Linked DNA regions of Homo sapiens: region 1 is linked to region 2. Evidence: promoter capture Hi-C in human tissues and cell types (Jung and others, 2019). All regions are on one chromosome and are shown on one strand. The core of a region is centred on a gene start or on the middle of the fragment in contact, and the rest is flanking DNA. Distances in the headings are between cores, read along the strand shown.

Evidence for each region. The method cuts DNA at HindIII sites, captures the fragments that hold promoters and counts their contacts. A contact is called where the count stands out against the background at its distance.
Region 1: the fragment with the promoter of SFMBT1 here is called in contact with a fragment that was not itself captured in region 2 in 1 of the 25 tissues and cell types used here (hippocampus).

What each region holds. Positions count from the first base shown.
Region 1 is chr3:53,042,022-53,047,335 of GRCh38, reverse strand. It overlaps SFMBT1 (Scm like with four mbt domains 1), which reads left to right and starts at 1,263. Exons shown (of 21, transcript NM_016329.4): 1 at 1,263-1,520. RefSeq lists enhancers at 1-445, 446-947 and silencers at 935-1,044, 1,095-1,414, 1,515-1,574, 1,935-2,224. The HindIII fragment of the contact is 17,124 bases long and covers 1-2,656 here.
Region 2 is chr3:52,755,981-52,760,778 of GRCh38, reverse strand. The region is part of intron 6 of NEK4 (NIMA related kinase 4); the gene reads left to right. Among named protein-coding and RNA genes, the nearest start is that of NEK4, 13 kb to the left of the region's middle. The HindIII fragment of the contact is 5,152 bases long and covers 1-4,798 here.

The DNA of each region.
Region 1 (5,314 bases), core at 14-2,513, 290 kb before region 2:
TTTCATGTCGTGAAAAGTTGCATTTCTTTGTAACAATATGGATTACTGTATTCTTTTTAGATTTTTCTTTCTCCGGTTGTCATATTGTTTTTTCAGTGGTGCTAAAAAAAATCTGGATTCAAATCCAGCCAGCAGCGTGACTTTGAGCAAGTTTGTGAAGTGGGATATTTCTCAGAGCGGTTGAGGGAGGTGGCTTGAGCTCGCACCTGGCACACGGTGAGAACCCCAGACTTTCTTCTTGCTGTGGGGGCGCCTCTGGGCCCTGTCCGATAACGCCTTTCACGGCCTGGGAGTCTGATCGGGAGCTCCCGGGTCTCGGTGGCGCGGGAACTCCCTTCTGGAGGGAACTTTCCGGAGCAGGTGGGCGGGTGTATGTCCCACGGGCACCTGCGCTCAGGAGGAGGGGGCGAGCTCGGGCAACGTAACCGCCCACGGTCACCTCGGGCTGCGGGGCCGACTTGAAGCCGCCTTCGAGGTTCTGATCCTTCCCGGGGCTCTGGGCTCGTTCGTCCCAATTCGCAGCTGTCCTGTGCCCCCTCGCTGCAGGAAGACTCAAGATTTACAGGGCGCCTCCTGCGGAAGCCTAGAGACATCGGGGGCGCCGAAGGGCCCGCGCCGGACTTCGCAGACAGGGGGCACTTGGGTGCCCTTTCAGGTCTCAGAGGGAGCGCCCGATCCCCGACGAGGGGCAGGCAAACGGGCGCAGTGCCCGCGGCGGCGGCACGCGCGCATCTGGGATCCGGCCGCTTCTCCGCTCATGCCATCTTGTCCGAGCCAGTCACGTGCGGGCGACAGCGGCGCGCTTCGCCGGGCCGGTACTCCAGGTCCGACCCGCGAACCCCTCTGGGATCCCCGCCGCTCTGTCTACAACCCGAGGTGAGGCGCAGGCTGGATCGGGGCTGGGCCAGGGCGGGCACTGGGTTCCCGGGGACGCGTCTCCTCTTCCGGGCCGTTCCGCTCGGGGCCACAGCGCCGTCGGGGGCCCGAGGCGCCGCCGCGTGTCCTGCGCCACGGCCTCGGGGCCGTCCGCGCCGAGTTGCTGGCTGGGGGCGTGGGTGGCCCGCGGCGCCGGACCCCCGGCACACCAGCCCGCGGAGTCCTTGCCTCCCGCGCGGCCCCAGCCAGGAGGGATGGCGCTGGGGCGGGAGCGGGGCAGCCGGGCCCGGGAGCTCCACGGGCGCGGCGCGAGGGGCGCAGGCTGCCTGGAGGACCGCGGAGCTGGGGGTGGGGGGGCGCGGGCGCATGCGCCCTGCGTCCGTGCCATATTGGAATGAGTCGGAGCGCGGAGCGCCGCCGCCGCCTCCGCCGGAGCGCGGGTGGAGGGGGGCGGGGAGAGCTGCCGGCCGCCCCGCTCCGCCGAACCCAGCAGGAAGGAGGGCGCGAGCGGGCGAGCGCGGGCAGCACGGGAGGAAAAAGCTTCCGCGCGGGGGAGCGAAAAGACGGAAAGAAAGAAAGAAAACGAGCGCGAGAGGGGGAAAAGCGAGCGATCGAGCGAGCGCGCGCGCGAAAACTCCGGGCAGGTAAAAAAGCGGGGCCACCGGCTGGGCCTTCCCGCGCGGCGGCCTGGAGGGGCGGCGGCGGCGCCGGGGCGGGGGACCGTACGGCGTCCCCTTCGAAGCGGCCGCGCAACTTTGCCAACGGGAAACCGCCGGGCGCCGGCGGGCGCGCGGGCTGAGGCGCCAACGGGCGGCGGCGGCGGCACGTTGGGGGCGGGGGCGGGGCGGGGGGAGCGCGGCGCCCGCGCGCGGCCCCGCGGTCCCGCGCGCCGGCCGGCCGGCTGCAGGGGCGCGCCTGGGCGCCTCGCCGCGGCGGAGAGCGGCGGCGGCCGTCAGCCCCTGGCAGGCAGCGCGGCGCGCGTCAGCCCGCGGGAGGCGTGAAAGGAAAGTGGCCGGGCGGCGGCAGTGGCGGGCGCCCAAGTTCCCCGGCGCGCCGGGCCCGCCGCGCGCCCCTCCCCGCGCGCGCCCCGCGCTCCGCCCGCCGAGCCCCCGCGGACCCGCCCCCCGGGCTCGCTCCGGGCGGGGCGCGAACCCGCAGCTGGGGCCGGGCGCGCGGCCGGTCGGAACTTCGGAGGGCCCGGGCGGTCGCTGCGCGGTGGCGGAGCGTCTAGTGGCCGCCGCAACCGGTGGCTCCGGGCCGCCGTTGTGAAGTGAGCGGGCCTCTCCCGCGCCGCGGCCCGCCGGGCACCGCCGCTGGACCCCGCGCCGACCCGGCAGCGCCCCGACCTGCCGCTCGGGAGGTCCGCGACCGTTTCGATTTCTGTTCCTAAAGTCCGATTTTGGACGCTGAAAAGGAGGCTGTGGAGGGGCGAGCGGCGTCCTGGGAAGCAAGGCCTGCTCTGTGCGGAGCAGAAACGCCTTGTGCGAACAGAAATAAATTCCCGCGGAAAGGATGTACGTTATGCTAAGTTTTTCACAAGATGTCAGCTGTTCCCGTAGGGTCTAAAACTAAGCCGGCAGGCACAGGTCACCCCCAGAGCTTGTGCTCAAGGAGTGGTGGACGCTTGGGTCAGGTGGGGGTGTTCCCAGCGGGTCGCCCGAAGCAGCACTGGTTGATGGTCCCAAGTGGTGTTTTTGAGTCCTGTTAGCAGTGATCTGTGTTTGAGAACCAAGTAACCATCAAAGAGATTCGAAAGGAAGTAAGATGGATTTTGTCAATCCCTGCGTATGTCTTCTCTTGAACCACATTTTCTAAGATGTCATTCTTAATTTTATTGCATCTGGGTAAAATGCCTGAACGTGTAATCATTAATTTGTCAACTGGCGAGAGGATGAAGGAAGATGTGTCTTCATGTGTACACTTTGAGGCCTGTTGACTAGCGTTTTGAGGCATTTGTTGAATTAGGCCGTAGGTAGATTCGGAGTTAAGATTTGTTTGCGATGTCAGAAAAGTTACGGCCTGGTAGAAACGGCCAGAGATCAGGAAACAGTTCTGTTATTACCGTTGTCATTGACTAACTGCCTTATCTTGGGCACATTTCTTACCCATTGTAGCTTTGATTTTCCTTATTTGCAACATTAAGATAAACAGATGATGTTTGGGGGTGCTTTCAGTTCGAAAATTCGGTGGCTTTCTTAACTGAAAGATTCTTAGAAATCACAGTGTATATTTTGAGAGGTACTACATAAAAGTGCTCGCAATGTGTGTCTTTATTAAAATTCATTTGGAAAAAACATCTTGGTAGCTAGATCCAGAATGGTTTTATATGATTATTTGAATAGATTTTTAACAATGTATTTTTATGGAGGTATGTATAACCTACCGAAAGATCTTAAGGGTACAATTCAATGACTTTTTATATATGTATATGCCCTGATAACCACACTCAGATCAAGATATGGAACATTTTCAGGCCTTGTATCCTTTCCATTCAGTAAACACATTCCCCCTCCCCAAGGCAACCACAATTCTGACTTCTGTCACCACAGATGAGTTTTGCCTCAAAACAGGACCCTTTTGAGGGTTAAAGGGGCAATACTAACAAACTGAGGATAGCTTGTATGTAAACTTGGAGTTATGGCCGTGTTGGCCATGACCCTTTGCTTTTATAATGATTCTTAGGGTTTTTGTAATCCAGAATAACTTAAAATTCTGTCCTGAGGAACTTCTTAGAAGGTCACTTTTCAGTGGGGGCAATACTTTGCAGGTTACGATTGGTAGTTCTTGGGAGTCCTTATGTTCACAGACAATGGTATTAATCTATGACTTCCCATTTTTAGAATATAGGTACTATATATTTGTAGACAACAGATTTGAAGAATGAATCATGAATTTTCCTAACAAGTTAGAGTTTAAGGTGTCAGTAGATGAATCAGTTTCTTAATGCCTAGAATTTGCTGAGAAAATTGAATGAAAATTGGTTTCTTAAAGTTAAGTGAATTAAGAATGTGTGCGTAAAGCTTTAACAACCTTTTCAATGACAGCAGTTGACTTATATATACAGGATAGTCAGCTGGTTTATCAAATCATTTAAAGTGCAACAATGAAAGCAAAAACAAAAGGTTAACTAAAAATTATGTCAGGTGTGATTAAAAAAATCAGCATGACTAAGATACCTTTTTTTTTTTATTAACCCTCTTTCTAGGAAGGTGGACTTTTAAATATTCTCCACTGAAGCAAATGCTGCAACAATTTGCATTTCCTTCACCAATGTCGTCTTGTGCCTTTTCTTGTTCCTACTGTAAAGGAGATGGGTTAGATGTTGTAAGTGAATTCTTATTTTGTTAGTTCCTAACAAAGGCTTGTGTTTTTTACTGCAAAGATATCTGTGTGATAAAAGTTGGGAATGTTCTAAGGCCTGTGGTGTAGGGATCCATGGGGAATAGTCCACAAAGTTAAAAGGTTTTCTTTTGTGAAATGATTTCGCTGAATAATTCTGTCTTTCCCGTGTTAAGCTAGCCAGCCAACTGACTGACCAGCAACTAAGCTGGATTTGGTCACTCCACCCAAGATTCACAGCCTCATTAGCCAAGAGAGTAATTGATGACTTAGCTATTATTGATACATTGTTTCTTTTTGTGGCTCTTTTTAAATTTCTTGACTTTTATGTGATCAGATTGTTTAATTTAAAATCTATTACATTTTTAAGAGAAGCAACTAAAGAGATACACGAGAAACAAAATACACAATGAAAGGGAATTTCCTTTTTTTGCTGTTTTGTTGTAAACTCAGATTTTTCCTTTTAAAAATGATTGCTGGCTAGGCACAGTGGCTCACGCCTATAATCCCAGCACTTTGGGAGGCTAGGCAAGAGGATCGCTTGAGACCAGGAGTTCGAGGCCAGCCTGGATGAAAGAAAAGGGAGACCCTGTGTCTCCAAAAAAATAAAAAAATTAGCCAGGCGCGGTGGTGGGCACCTATAGTCCCAGCTCTTCAGGAGGCTGAGGTGGGAGGATCCTTTGAGCCCAGGAGTTCGAGGCTGCAGTGAGCTATGATTGCACTGCTGCACTCCAGCCTGGGTAACAGAGTGACACTGTCTCAAAAAACAAACCAACCAACCCAGTATGATTTGCCTATCCATAATCTTCCTGCTTCTGTAGTATACTTTTGCTTTCACAGTGATACCTAGACTGGGTTTAGCTGTGGAATGGTGGTGTAGCAGCAGGTATCATTTAACTCTAAAGTCTGTAGAAAAGATGAACTATACAAACTTCATTGGCTTTTTATTTTGGCGTCATGTTATGTTCACATTAAGTAAATAGATACAGTCCAAAAACCAAAAGGCCATTATTTAGGCAGACATTTTACATCTTTAATATTTTTAATGTTACATTTTTTCTCTTATAATTTTCCAAAATTTTGCTTTCTTGGATTATTT
Region 2 (4,798 bases), core at 1,078-3,577:
AGGGTATGTGTTTTAGAAACTGCACTTAGAAAAATGGGCCATCTAAGCAAATTATTTTGTGTGAAATGATTATGCTTTACTAGAGATTCTGTTGTACAATTAATTCCTTACTGTAAAGAAAGAATACTGGTTAAGGTGATTGATTTAGCTTTATCCAAATTGGGCTGTCAAATTGTTCACAAAGTCAGTGCTGTAATAACTTTAAGAATTTTTTAGGTGAAATTTATATAACAAAATTAACCATTTTAAAGTAAACAGTTAAGGCTGAGCGCGGTGGCTCATGCCTGCAATCCCAGCACTCTGGGAGGCCGAGGCTGGCAGATCACCTGAGGTCAGGAGTTCAAGACCAGCCTGGCCAACATGGTGAACCCTCATCTCTACTAAAAATACAAAAATTAGCTGGCTGTGGTGGCATGTACCTGTAGTCATAGCTACTCAGGAGGCTGAGGGAGGAGAATCGCTTGAACCTGGGAGGTGGAGGTTGCAGTGAGCCAAGACTGCACTACTGCACTCCAGCCTGGGTGACAGAATGAGACACTGTCTCAAAAATAAAAATAAAAATAAATAAAATAAAATAAATAAATAAAGTGATCAATTAAATGTGGCCAGTACATTCACAGTGTAGTGCAACCGTCACTTCTATGTAGTTCCAAAACATTTTCATCACCCCAAAGGAAATCTCTTCCTCATTAAGCAGTCACTCCCATTTTGTCCTTCACCCAGCCTCTGGCAACCACCAGTGTGTTTCCTGTCTCTATGAAGTTACCTGTCCTGGATATTTCATGTAAATAGAATCATTAAATATATCCTTTTGTTTCTGGTGTCTTCCACATAGCATATTTTCAAGGTTCATCCATGTAGCATGTATGAATACTTCATTTCTTTTTAGGTCTGGCTACCATTATGTGGATATACCACTGTTTATCCATTCATCCATTAGTAGACATCTGGGTTTTTTTCACCTTTTGGCTATTGCTATGAACATAAGTGTGCAAGTAGTTGAGTACCTGTTTTCCGTTCTTTTGGGTACATACCTAGCAGTGGAATTGCTGAGTCAAATGGTAATTTTTGGTTTGACTTTTTTTTTGGTTTGACTTTTTGAGGAACTGTTGCACTGTTTTCTACAGTGGCTGCACCATTTGACATTCCCATCAGCAGTGCACAAGAGTTCCAGTTTCTCCACATCTTTGCCGGCACTAATTATTTTCTGATTTTTTGATTCTAGCCATCCTAGTGGGTGTAAAGTGGTATCCTATTGTATTTTTGATTTGTATTTCCCTAACGATTAATGACATACAGCATCTTTTCACATGCTTGTTGGCCATTTGTATGTCTTCTTTGGAGAAATATCTGCTAAAGCTTTTGCTTTTTTTTTTTTGATACAGGGTCTTGCTCTGTTGCCTAGGCTGGAGTGCAGTGCTGCGATCACGGCTCAATCTAGCCTCCACCTCTCTGGATCAAGTGATCCTCCCACCTCAGCCTCCTGAGTAGCTGGGACCACAGCATGCCACCATGCCTGGCTAATTTTTTTATTTGTAGAGACAATGTCTTACTATGTTGCCCAGGCTGGTCTCAAACTCCTGGGCTCAGGAGGTCCTCCCACCTTGGCTTCCCAAACAAAGTGCTGGAATTACAGGCATGAGCCACTGTGCCCAGGCTTTTTTTTTTTTTTTCTTTTTTCTTTTTTTAAGAGAGGATCTTGCTCTGTTACGTAGGCTGGAGTATAGTGGCATCATCATAGCTCACTACAGCCTCTGAACTCCTTGACTCAAGGGATCCTCCTACCTCAGCCTTCCGATTAGCTGTGTCTACAGGTGCACGCCACCATACCTGGCTAATTATTATGATTATTTTTGTAGAGGTGGGTCTCACTATGTTGCTCAGGCTGGTCTTGAACAGTTCTTCTGCGTTTTCCTCCCAAAGTGCTGATATTACAGGTATGAGCCACATCACCCAGCCCCTGCCCAGTTTTAAATTGTGTTTTTGTCTTTTTGTTGTTGAGTTGTAGGAGTTCTCGATCTGTGTTCCAGATACTAGTCCCTTGTCAGATAGACAACTTGCAAGTATTTTCTCCATTGTATAGGTTGTCTTTTCTTTCCTTTTTTAGTTAAAATTTTTTTTTTTGTTTTTAAAAATTTCTTTTGTTTTTTCACTTTCTTGATAATGTCCTTTTCACAAAAGCTTCTAATTTTGATGAAGTCCAGTTTATCTATTTTTTTATTTTGTTGTCATAGCTAAGAATCCCTTGCCAAATCCAACGTCTTGAAGGTTTATGCCATAGTTTCTTCTAACAGTTTTATAGTTTTAGCTCTTATATTTAGGTTGTCGATCGAATTTTTAGTTTTAATTTTTTCATTATGATAAAGTACACATAATGTAAAATTTACTATTTTAACCATTTGTAAGTGTACAATTTAGTGGTGTTAAATACATCTATAATGTTATGCAGCCATCACCCCTCATCTTCATAACTCTCATATTGTAAAACTGAACTCTGTTACCATTAAACAGTATCTCCCCATTCCCTACTACCCCAGTCCCTGGCAACCACTGTTCTACCATTCTACTTTCTTTCTTTTTTTTTTTTTTTTTTTTTTTTTGAGATGGTGTCTTGCTGTGTCACCCAGGCTGGAGTGCAGTGGCATGATCTCGGCTCACTGCAACCTCCACCTCCCTGGTTCAAGCAATTCCCCTGCCTCAGCCCCCTGAATAGCTGGGATTACAGGTACACGCCACAACATCTGGCTAATTTTTTTTGTATTTTTAGTAGAGACAGGGTTTCACCACGTTGGCCAGACTGGTCTTGAACTCCTGACCTCAGGCAATCCACCCACCTTGGCCTCCCAAAATGCTGAGATTACAGGTGTGAGCCACTGTGCCTGGCCCACCATTCTACTTTCTGTCTCCATGGTTTTGACTAGTGTAAGTACCTCAGATAAGGAGATCTTGCATTATTTGTCTTTCATGACTGCCTTATTTCGTTTCACATAATATCCTCAAGGTTCATCCATGTTGTGACATATGTCAGAATTACCTTCCTTTTTAATGCTGAATAGTATTCTGTTGCATGTATATCCCACGTTTTGTTTATCTGGTTCATCTGCAGATGTACATTTGTGTTGTTTCCACCTTTTTTGCTAGTGTGAATAACGCTGCTATGAACATGAATGTACACTTATCTCTTTGAGACCCTGATTTCTTTTTTCTTTTTTTTTTTTTTTTTGAGACGGAGTCTCACTGTTACCCAGGTTGGAGCGCAGTGGCACAATCGTGGCTCACTGTAACCTCCACCTCCCAGGTTCAAGCGATTCTCCTGCCTCAGCCTCCCAAGTAGCTGGGATTACAGGCATGTGCCATCATGCCCAGCTAATTTTTGTATTTTTAGTAGAGATGGGATTTCACCATGTTGGCCAGGCTGGTCTCAAACTCCTGACCTCAGGTAATCCACCCGCCTTGGCCTCCCAAAGTGCTAGAATTACAGGCGTGAGCCTCTGCTCCCAGCTAAGACCCTGATTTCTCTTTTGTTGGGTATATAACCAGAAGTGGAACTGCTGACTACATGGTAATTCTAACTTTTTGAGGACCTGTGGTACTGTTTTCCACAACTTCTGTATCATTTTACATTCCTATCAGCAGTACACAAAGGTTCCAATTTCTCTACATTCTCACCAGTACTTGTTATTTTCTGGGATTTTTTAGTAATAGCCATCCTAATGGGCATGAGGTGGTATCTCATTGTAGTTTTGATTTGCATTTCCTTAGTGATTAGTTATATTGAGCATTTTTTGTGTGCTTATTGGCCGTTTGCTATCTTTTTGGGAGGAGCGTCTATTCAAATCCTTTGCCCATTTTTGAGTTGGGTCGTTCATTTTTTGCTGTTGGATTTTAGGAGTTCTCCATATATTCAGGATGTCAATTCCTTATCACATATATGATTTGCAAATATTTTCTCTCATTTTGTGGGTTACCTTTTTACTCTGTTGATAGTATCTTTTGATGCACAAAATTTTTAATTTTTGTGAAATCCAGTGTGTCTTTTTCTTGTGTTGCCTGTGCCTTTGGTGTCCTATCCAGAAAATCGTTGGCAAATCCAATGTTGTGAAGCCTTTGCCTTATGTCTTCTTCTGAGAGTTTTATAGTTTTAGGTCTTACATTTAGGTTTTTTGTTCATTTTGAGTTAATTTTTATATATGGTGTTAGGTAAAGGTCTGACTTCATTATTCTGTATATGGATATCTAGCTTTTTCAGCACTATTTGTTGAAAAAACTGTCCTTTCCTCATTAAATGATCTTGGCATCTTTGTCAAAAATCATTCGACCACATATGTGAAAGTTTATTTCTGGGTTCCCCATTCTGTTCCATTGGTTTCTATGTCTAATGTCTGTTTTTATACTAATACTACACTGTTTTGATAATGTGGTTTTGTGGTATGTTTTAAAATCATGAGGCATGAGTCCTCCATCTCTATTCTTCTTTTTCAAGATTGTTTTGGCTATTTGGGATCCCTTGAGATTCCACTGAATTTTAGGATGGATTTTTCTATTTTTCCAAAGAATGTCATTGGGATTTTGATAGGGATTAGATTGAATCTGTAGATTGCTCTGGGTAATATTAATATATTGACAATATTAAGCTTTTCTCAAGGAGATGCCCAAATGTAAAAAGAGAAAAAAAGAAAGAACAATGTTAAGTCTTTCAATCCATGAACATGGGATGTGTTTCCATTTATTTATGTCTTCTTTAAATTTCTTTCAGCACCATTTTGTAGATTTCACTATGTAAGTCCTTCTTTCGCCT